Regions from separate parts of the Homo sapiens genome. Here region 2 is linked to region 1. Evidence: promoter capture Hi-C in 16 types of primary human blood cells and fetal thymus (Javierre and others, 2016). All regions are on one chromosome and are shown on one strand. The core of a region is centred on a gene start or on the middle of the fragment in contact, and the rest is flanking DNA. Distances in the headings are between cores, read along the strand shown. Region 1 holds the start of TSPYL1 (TSPY like 1). Region 2 holds the start of TUBE1 (tubulin epsilon 1).

Region 1 (5,241 bases), core at 818-3,317:
CTTAAATTATTTGTAAAATAAAATTGTTTTCTCTGTGTTTTTCCTATCCTTTTAGAGCCTTTGAAACATATATAGAAATTCATTCTCCTGAGTAGGAAACTGTTACTATATAGAATAGAGCAGCCCTCTGGTTTGCCAGTGGCAGATAGGAAGGAGAGCAGAGTGACAACCCATATGCCCCTTACTTCTCTTCCGCAAGGAGCAAGTTGCAAGCAAGAGAAACTGTTTTCTGCTCATTTGCTCCTTTATTTAACATTTTAATAATCTATGGGATACTGTGTAAGGTAGTGTGCTAGGCACTCGATAAACAGAGGGAAACGAAACCATGATCATGTCCTCTTGCAGTTTACAGTCTCCTCAGATATCGTTTGTGGTATGTTTAGGCTTTAATTTTGTCTTTCTGTGCATTTGCCTAAGTATATTTCTGGTCTTGATATTGAAAGACAGATTCAAGCTGTAATACATCACAGCTGTTGGGCAGGAACTCACGGGAAGCCATGAGCAAGGTAGAAGGGGCTGCTATTAGAAACAACTTGAGGCACCCATAGATGCAACCAAACCTTAATCCAAGGTGTATTCATTTCATATTGCTTCTGTAACAAATTACCACAAATTTAATAGCTTAAAATGCACAAATTTATTTTCTTATAGTGCTGGAGTTTAGAGGTAATAACCTCAAGGTGTTGTCATTCCTTTGGAGGCTCTAGGATTGAATCTATTTCCTTACCTTTCAAGCTTCTAGAGGCTGCCTTTATTCCTACGATCCTGGCTCCTTCCTCCATCTTCAAAGCCAGCAACATAGCGATTTCCCTTTCCTCCCTCCCACACCTATTCTCCACCATTCCTTCCCTCTCTCTGTGCTTTCGTCCTCTTATCTTCTCTGACTGACCCTCCTGCCTCCTTCTTATAAGAAATTTGTAATTCCATAGGGCCCACCTGTATAATCCAGAATCATCTTCTCATCTCCAAATCTTTAACTTAATCATATCTGCGAAGTCCCTTTGGCCGCATAACTAAGACAGGTACATCTTTGAGGGCCATCAGGCTACTACCACACAAAGCAAATTAAGTAGAAAATAACGTTTGCCTCTTTTATACCTTGAGTCCACCAGCTGCATGTTGCCCTTTGCAAGTTTGTTTTCTACTTCAAGGCCATCTTAGTTGTCCATTTTAACTAGCCTTTCCTCACAAAATGGTGGTATGTGGCTCCCCCCACTGATATTTCTCTGAGGCCTTGTAGCTCTCTAAGACAGCACCAGTTTAACTCACAAGTCAACAAACTGGAACACTTCAACCAGAGACATTGACATCCCCCTCTAATGAACTCAGCTGATTGCTAAAGACAGATGCTTCGTTAGAGCCAAACATTCCTATCTTACATAACTAAATATGATAATAAATTAAGTTCTTGGGGCTGGAAATAGTTATAATTTCCTCTTTCTTGCAGTGAAAAGGCATGGAACATTTAGCAAACTGATCCTGGCTTAATTTCTACCGATACTATGCAGCACAAACTCTTATTTGATGCAGATTATAAATCGAAAATTAGCAATGAATACTATGCATCGCTTTAGTGGTAAGAGGCTGCTGAGTAGCTTTTTTTCCCCAGTAACCGTAGAGGCAAGAATTGATATTTTTATGTCACTTTTACTAAGAAGGGGGGAAACATTTTGCTATTAATCTTAAAGAGAAGTCTTTTGCTGCTAGTTACGTGGAGTAACAGGGAATAGATTTACCTTCCTGCCTCAAAAAAGTGAAGACCAGAAAAACATTTGTTTTCAGACACTGGAGAGCAGGCACTGTTACGGCTGTGATTTTACAACTGCTCCTACATGCTGGGAGCAGTCGCTAGATGCATCTCAAGGTGGGTCGTCCGCGCTTCCAGACTCAGCACAATCGACATTTATTTACGTAGGTAAAATTACTGTTGCTATGGGTAAATTCACAGAAATAAAGCCCAGAGAATCCGGTTGGCTGGCAGGGAGCGGCGGAACCAATCCCGGGCTCAGCAAGTTCTCGCGATACCGTGAGATCTCCAGTCCTGACGACACCGCCGCTGAAATGTTAGTGAGACTGTAGGGTGGGCGGTGCGAGCGGCGGTTAGCTCCCAGTTCGGCCTCTGAGGAAAACGGGCGTTCGCCTGCGGTTGGTCCGACTGTTAGCAACATGAGCGGCCTGGATGGGGTCAAGAGGACCACTCCCCTCCAAACCCACAGCATCATTATTTCTGACCAAGTCCCGAGCGACCAGGACGCACACCAGTACCTGAGGCTCCGCGACCAAAGCGAGGCGACACAGGTGATGGCGGAGCCGGGTGAGGGAGGCTCGGAGACCGTCGCGCTCCCGCCTCCACCGCCTTCAGAGGAGGGGGGCGTACCCCAGGATGCCGCGGGCCGTGGCGGTACTCCCCAGATCCGAGTTGTTGGGGGTCGCGGTCATGTGGCGATCAAAGCCGGGCAGGAAGAGGGCCAGCCTCCCGCCGAAGGCCTGGCAGCCGCTTCTGTGGTGATGGCAGCCGACCGCAGCCTGAAAAAGGGCGTTCAGGGTGGAGAGAAGGCCCTAGAAATCTGTGGCGCCCAGAGATCCGCGTCTGAGCTGACGGCGGGGGCGGAGGCTGAGGCGGAGGAGGTGAAGACAGGAAAGTGCGCCACCGTCTCAGCAGCCGTGGCTGAGAGGGAGAGCGCTGAGGTGGTGAAGGAAGGCCTGGCGGAGAAGGAGGTAATGGAGGAGCAGATGGAGGTAGAGGAGCAGCCGCCAGAAGGTGAAGAAATAGAAGTGGCGGAGGAGGATAGATTGGAGGAGGAGGCGAGGGAGGAAGAAGGGCCCTGGCCTTTGCATGAGGCTCTCCGCATGGACCCTCTGGAGGCCATCCAGCTGGAACTGGACACTGTGAATGCTCAGGCCGACAGGGCCTTCCAACAGCTGGAGCACAAGTTTGGGCGGATGCGTCGACACTACCTGGAGCGGAGGAACTACATCATTCAGAATATCCCGGGCTTCTGGATGACTGCTTTTCGAAACCACCCCCAGTTGTCCGCCATGATTAGGGGCCAAGATGCAGAGATGTTAAGGTACATAACCAATTTAGAGGTGAAGGAACTCAGACACCCTAGAACCGGTTGCAAGTTCAAGTTCTTCTTTAGAAGAAACCCCTACTTCAGAAACAAGCTGATTGTCAAGGAATATGAGGTAAGATCCTCCGGCCGAGTGGTGTCTCTTTCTACTCCAATTATATGGCGCAGGGGGCATGAACCCCAGTCCTTCATTCGCAGAAACCAAGACCTCATCTGCAGCTTCTTCACTTGGTTTTCAGACCACAGCCTTCCAGAGTCCGACAAAATTGCTGAGATTATTAAAGAGGATCTGTGGCCAAATCCACTGCAATACTACCTGTTGCGTGAAGGAGTCCGTAGAGCCCGACGTCGCCCGCTAAGGGAGCCTGTAGAGATCCCCAGGCCCTTTGGGTTCCAGTCTGGTTAACATTTGCCCTTGGGAATACTCCTGCACAAGGTCTCCTACCACCTTCTGCTGGACCTGTGCTTGGGCATCAGCAATGAGTATGCCTTCTATTGTGCTTTGTTTTTGCTGACTTTTCTGCACCCTGTTTCCTTTGGATATTCAGTTCTCTCAACCTCAAGATTGAGACGGTGGTGGGTATGCTTCTCCACTTCCATATGACCTTCATGCTGTTCTGGAATATCACATGCTACGAGGTCATCCTTCACACTACTTGTAAGCCAAGCAAATGATACTGTAGATTGTACTGCCTTTATCTGCACTGCTTGGACCCTGTTTATTCCCAGGGCCTCTGAACTGGTTGCTGTCACTTGGATTTCTAGCTTTGGGAGCCTGTTCCACCTACTCAGCTCTGCATTGAGCAGTATGGGCACATGCCCTGTGGACAGTTACTGGACGTTAATGAACTCAGAGGAGAAAAGCAGTGAGCCACTTGTTCTGTGTGATTTATGGTACTTCATTGCTCTTCCTTCACCTCTAGTCACTTTCTATTGCTACCTGCCCTACATTGGCTCCTGCCAAGGTCCCTCTCTCTCCCTGTTTTCCTTTTTTTTTTTTTTTTTTTTTTTTTTGAGACGGAGGACGGAGTCTTGCTCTGTCGCCCAGGTTGGAGTGCAGTGGCGCGATCTCGGCTCACTGCAACCTCCACCTCCCGGGTTCAAGCGATTCTCCTGCCTCAGCCTCCCGAGTAGCTGGGACTACAGGCGCGCGCCGCCACGCCCGGCTAATTTTTATATTTTTAGTAGAGACGGGGTTTCACCATGCTGGCCAGGCTGGTCTCGAACCCCGATCTCGTGATCCGCCCTCCTTAGCCTCCCAATCCTCTCTTAAAAAAGTGATAGCTCAGAAACATTTGTAAAAGCAAGGTTTTTATTTCATTTTGGCTCTGTCATTTTCAGAGGCAAAGAAGTTGGCCTGTAAAATAGAGTGCTAGAGCTCTTACGCCCCTCCCCTTCTTCCCAACTTCCTACTTCCTAGCCCTTTTATCAACTCCTAGAATAGTTAAAGAGAGACACATCTAGATGGGATGAAAGGTGCCCTAAGCAGGAGAAACTGAACAAAAGGCTAGAGGCATGGGCCAGGTAAAAATTGGGCCTAGAGTGAAGACTGTGCTGTCGTTAAGAGCTTTCGAGGAAGGAGTACTTACTCCCCAATGATGATGAATGGAAAAATACTTTTCAGGGAGAATTGAAGGGGTTAAAGTGTTAAATATGTTGCCTAGACAAGGGTTCTTTAAAGAAAGACAGCGCAACTTTGAATGCTTTCTTACTTGTTTTGTGACCTAATTTATGTGGAAGATTGTTATTTCATTAGGATTTAGTAAAATTTTTTTTTCTGATTCTAAACTTATTGTGAAAATTGAGCTGTACAGATATTCTTTTGATTTCAATTGGGAACATTTGGAAGAACAACAGTCTTACTTGCCTGTACAATATAGAGACATATGAATAGTCATAACAGTTTTCAACTTGTTCTTGTTTCTGTTAAACTATATTCCTAGAAACATAGTTTGAACAACTTGGTCTTTGTTAGGCTTGTCAAATTGCCTTCATGGAAAAATAATCTACAAAAGTATGGTTTAATTGATTGTCTTACATGATAATTTTCCCTGGTAACAACTTAGTAAGTGATATATCTTTTTTCCTAAATTGCTTAAATACTGTGAAATTGCTCTGACAAATTGGAAGTGTACCATTGGCATATTTGTCTTCCTTTTTATGCATG
Region 2 (5,241 bases), core at 1,794-4,293, 4.2 Mb after region 1:
GGTCCAGACTTAGGTACCGCTATAACAAAAATCTAAAATATAAGTCACCATACCTAAGTGGTCAAGCAGCAATTAACAAGGAAACTGTTGTGGAAAGCTAAAAGGATAGTGATCTATGTCACCCAGGAACAAACCTATTGGGAAAAATCTTTGGAAAACTCTGTGATAACCTAGAAGGCATGTGATTTAACTAATGAATTTAAATGTTGGGAGAAGAGGCTGGAAAACAATAACATGTCAGTTGCTACTGTTTGTCAAGTTATATGAGAAAGAGATGAGCTCAGAAATGGCGGTGTGCAAGCAAGAATAAAAACAGACCACCCACAACTCTGAATTATATTTTAATGACAACTTACAAAAGCTACAGAATAATTTTCTTCTAAAACATTTTATTCCCCTTCAGAACTTTGCAGCATGTTTTCAATGCCTTCCAGTACTGAATGTGCTATATAGATGAGTCTAAAGTACTCTAATTAATTGTTTTTTCTTCATCCCACTCCCCCGTTCATTTCATGCCTAGGTACCTAAAAAATTCTCTCTTTATTCTGAAAAGTTGAATGCCTTAATGAGGCTGCATGTCTTGGTGTTGATTTTTCTATAAATTGTCCTATAGAACATAGTGTGTATCCTTTTAATCTATGTATTTTTCTTCCTTTTTTTTTATCAAGTACATTTTTTCCTCCATTTGCTGTGGGCACATGTTAATCTTATGTTGAGCCATCTTTGTCTCCTTCATACATATTATTTTTAATAACTTTCATATCTCTGGGTTTTGCCTAGTATTGTTATTATTTTAAGACTTTCCTCTACATTATAATTTGATGTGCATCTCTCTAGTCTGCTTCTTAAATGCTTTTAAAAATTATTTCTTTAAGTCCTTTAAGGTGGATGTTGTTGTCTTCAGTTAATTTCCTTAGTTCTTTTATCTCCATTTTATTTCATTTATTCATCAAATATTTATTTACTATCTACTATATGCAAGGTACTATCCCTAGTAGTGGATAAAACAACAAGACTCAGCCCTCATAGAGCTTGAGTCTTATTATTTTAGTATCTTGTCTTTAAGTTCCTGTTTTATTGCATTCATATTCTTAAGTTCTTCTTCAGCACAAAGTAGATATGATGAATTTTCTTTTCTCCCCTCTTAGGCTAGGTTTTACCCCAAGGTCTTGTACTTTATCCATCTTTTACATCGTTCCTTCCTTCCTCTCCCCCTTCCCTCCCTCTCTCCCTTCCATCCTTGTCTTCCTTCCTTCAATTTTAGGAGTCCATAGGATTCCCAATAATTTTTTTCTTTTTCATTTTCAGCATGTGGAATTCTGTTCACTCTATTTGCTCTGTATGTTGGTCAGCTATCACTACAATAAAACTGCACCCCAAAATTTCAGTAATTTCAACCAAAAACATTTCTCTTGCTTATAATATTCTGAATAGCCCGCTGCGGTTCAACCGATCTCAACTTGGCTCACCCGGGTTTGCATATACGGAAGTTTTGGAGTGGCTGGCATGTGAGGCTCTACCTTGCTTGGCTCTTAAGCAGAACTGTCTCTCAGTCTGATTCTCTAGAGACTGAAGTTATTAATAAGATGTGTTAGGACTTTTCTTTCCTGTGTGGGGAATAATGACTGGGACTGCATGAAGGGTAGGGCTCTGCAAAGGCCAGTGTATCATCTCACCTAGCACTGATAACACACTGATACAGACCTATTCACATCACTGCCTACAAACTGGACCAAGACTTGCAAATTTTGGAAGCCCCAGACGTTGGGACTTTAGCATCAAGACCTAAAATGCCCAACTTTACCTCTACCACTGACCCCATACTCAGTAAGAAGTTAAGAATAAATCCAGCCTACAAAAATTTACTGACCGAAAGCTGCCTATTACCAAAAGATATAAAATCCATTGCAACTTTAAACCTACCGGCTACCAGAGAAATTTAATAGTAACTACTACGTGTCTTGGTGGGACAATAAAGTGTTCTAATCCATTGAATATTACAGTTCATATTAGCACATATTCATAGCACATACCATATAACTTTTTATTAAACAAAGAAGACTTCTTAGAGTTTCGTAGTTCTTCAGAATTTTTGTGGAAAATATTAATTTCATTAAAGAAGTACTTGAGTTCTTAATTAAAATCTGGTCTAATTTGATCAATAGAAGTTTACATATTTTAATGTTTGACAATTTTAAGTAGTTGGTAATTGTCATAATGCCTAACTTTTTAATCTTCTCCTGCCTATCCCATCTAAATACCCATCTAAATGCCTAGTGTTAATCTCGTGTCTTCTATCAGACTTCTACATACTCATCTACATCCTCAACCACTGAATCCTATTGCACTTATAGTCAACGCCACACAATTCTTTAAGTATTTCGCGTGTATGTCTTCAATTAGATTGTAAGCTTCTTGGAACTGGATCTATGCCTTAATTTCTTTCTAATCTTCCCAGCGAGCCTACAAGTTAATTTGGGGAGTATACAGCGTTCAACAAATACTGGTTGGGTCTGTGACCTTAGCTTTGCCATTTTTGTCAAAGCGTATAACCATCTAGTTTCAATTGTGCCCTGACATGACTATTTCTCTGGGGTTTCTCTTTGCTCAACGCCATTGTTCATTTTCTATTAGAATAAAGGGCTTGTTGAACAGAGATGCCAACGCAGCGTCCCGTGGAATCTGAATAAACGGACTGATCCACCGCCCCGGGTGTTGAGGCTGTGAACAAAAATTAAACCTCTGATAGCCCACGAACAGCTTAACGACACATATTTTAAAATACCACTCCAAAGCCTAGTTACCTGCCAGTTACCCCGGCCTCCGGAGCTGCCGATGCTCGAAGATGTTGACAAGGCAGCTAGGATATACAGTCCAGAAGCCCAGTCGCTACGGTAACGGTGACACGCAAGTGCACTTGCGCGGCCTTCTGACGGAAAACCTTAGCCTGAACCTACAGACGTGCTTAGCGACGGCAGAGGCTTGCGGCAGTAGCGTGACTTACGGCAGCTCTCTAGCAGAGCGCCGTTGCTGGGGGAATGCAGAAGCGGCCGCGGGCTAGCAAGCTCCCGGAGCCGGCGGCGCACCACCATGACCCAGTCGGTGGTCGTACAGGGTAAGCTACGCCGGGCGGGTAGAGACCTGGTCGCCGCGGAATCCAGCGGCCATGTTTCCTGCTTAATGTCCTATTCTCTTTCCTTCCTCTCCTCCGGTCGCAGTCGGCCAGTGCGGAAACCAGATCGGCTGCTGCTTCTGGGACCTGGCACTAAGGGAGCACGCCGCGGTCAACCAGGTACCCGCCCGCCGCCGCGAGCCCCCTCGCCTGTCAGCTAGGTCTTCCAGCCCATACGCAGGAAATAATCGACTTGAGCTTTCATCTGACCCGTTTAAGATGCATGGGATCTTCCCAGTAAAGAACGTACTGGTTTTTAAACATGTTGCGTCAGACACACACTAAACTAAAAGAACACTGGCCAGCGACCTTAGTCTTAACGTTTTTCCTGATTCTCAGGGTCTCCTCTTTATTGGTGTTCGTGTGCAGAACAGTGAGATTTGTATATGGGAAAGTACTTTGTAAAATAGATAACACGTGTGGTTATTGTATTCCTTAATTTAACCAGTCAGCTTTTAAAAAGATTACGAAGAATCCAGAGAACGCTCATTTGATGGACCTGTCCTACAGTCCTATGGGTGAAATCCTTTCTTTAGCACCCCCTGCTGAACTTTTTATCTGTAGATCTGGCATTTACTCTTCTAAGGAGATTGGGAAGAGTCAGGCTCCGCATTTTGTGATACTTGGTTTTTCTTATCAGAGTCTCATCCTAGCCATTACAGTATTATGTAATTAAAATTGAAAGAACTTGATTTGGGCGAGAAGCAAAACCTAAATGCTATTAACATATGTTTTTCTTTTTAGAAAGGAATTTATGATGAGGCAATAAGCAGCTTCTTTAGAAATGTGGACACCAGGTAAGATGGGATTAAAGTCTGTCACAGTGTGATACTTTAAGTTTCAGTAGCTTGGGAGAGAATTCTTCAAAGGACAATAAAAATAGCCAGCTGCGAAGTTGTGTTTTTTTGTTTCATTATTGAAAGCATATTTATTCTATTAGATTATTAATATTCTTATATCATTTTCCCGAAGAAGACAACAGATTTCCCTTTAGTGTGACTTCTTTTAACTTAACCTTGAAATAAGTTTCATTAAAAGAAAGCTGAAATTTTCCCAGAGGGCATCTTGTTAATGCATCCTGTAATAACTAACTTTTGAAAGAAAAATATATTGTTTACATATATGCTGTAAGTATAAAAATATACTTAAAAAGGTGACAAGCAGTTGTTGGATTGTTTTTGTTTATTTAATAAAGAGTATATGTAAGTACCATATATGTTTTATCTGGAAGAGTAATTTAAGTTGCCGTTTAGGATATCTCCATAAGCTTTTAATATTAAATCATTAAGTTCATGCATTTTCAAAATACTTCATAAAACTAACTGTCCTGTGCTTAAACTGAAAAATACATACTTCGTGTCAGGCTTTAATCCAATAGGAACATCAGTTCTAGTTTAAAATAGTTGGCTGGGTGTGTGAGCAGTTATCTTCAGAGAAAGCTGATTAGTCCGCGCTTCCTGGGTGAATTCCAGAGTCTATCTAGGGCACTGGCTTGCAAACTCAGAAGTGTCATTGGCATCTCGAGATGGGTTCAGTGCTCTCCAGTACAGCCAGGTTAACCAAAGACCAAATTCTCATTTTCATAGGCACATTACTTTATCTTTTGTAGGAAATCTAACTGAAAAGCTGTGTAATAATCTGAAGGTTGCTTGGTGACCATGGAATCAGACCAAAGGAAGTTAGTTACTTTAATGGCTGGTATCATTTATATTTATTTTATGGAGATATCTGTCATATAGACTATAGATTCCCTCTTATTTGTAGCCCACAATATCCTCACCTCTAAATTCTCTTAGGAGACTCAAATTTGCTTCTGTCATACTTCCTTTCCGGCGCTTCTCTTGCTAAGTTCCTACACCCACCTCTTTACTTCTTGTTACCCAACGCTTACATTGAGTATTACATAGTTGAGACTCAGCCTGGGAGCTTTTCTTTCTTCATAAGGTGACTCTTCATAACTACACTCTCATCTACTCTGTGTGTTTTATACTTTAACCTGAGAGCACTATTATTTTCCCGGTAAGTTTGGCAAACAGGGTTGTGGCATCTTGCACTTCTTTCTGTGTACT

Evidence for each region. The method cuts DNA at HindIII sites, captures the fragments that hold promoters and counts their contacts. A CHiCAGO score of 5 or more calls a contact.
Region 2: a contact is called between the fragment with the promoter of TUBE1 here and the fragment with the promoter of TSPYL1 in region 1, in 1 of 17 cell types (total CD4 T cells). The highest score is 6.6, in total CD4 T cells.

The regions. Positions count from the first base shown.
Region 1 is chr6:116,276,756-116,281,996 of GRCh38, reverse strand. It overlaps TSPYL1 (TSPY like 1), which reads left to right and starts at 2,067. Exons shown (of 1, transcript NM_003309.4): 1 at 2,067-5,241. The coding sequence starts at 2,167. The coding sequence ends at 3,480. It also overlaps a transcript of DSE not described here. RefSeq lists enhancers at 2,074-2,133, 2,364-2,633, 2,654-2,703. The HindIII fragment of the contact is 6,415 bases long and covers 738-5,241 here.
Region 2 is chr6:112,085,284-112,090,524 of GRCh38, reverse strand. It overlaps TUBE1 (tubulin epsilon 1), which reads left to right and starts at 3,043. Exons shown (of 12, transcript NM_016262.5): 1 at 3,043-3,115; 2 at 3,219-3,292; 3 at 3,917-3,969. The coding sequence starts at 3,091. FAM229B (family with sequence similarity 229 member B) reads right to left here and starts at 2,934. Exons shown (of 4, transcript NM_001033564.3): 1 at 2,805-2,934. RefSeq lists enhancers at 2,874-3,063, 2,798-3,329, 3,464-3,513. The HindIII fragment of the contact is 2,028 bases long and covers 2,414-4,441 here.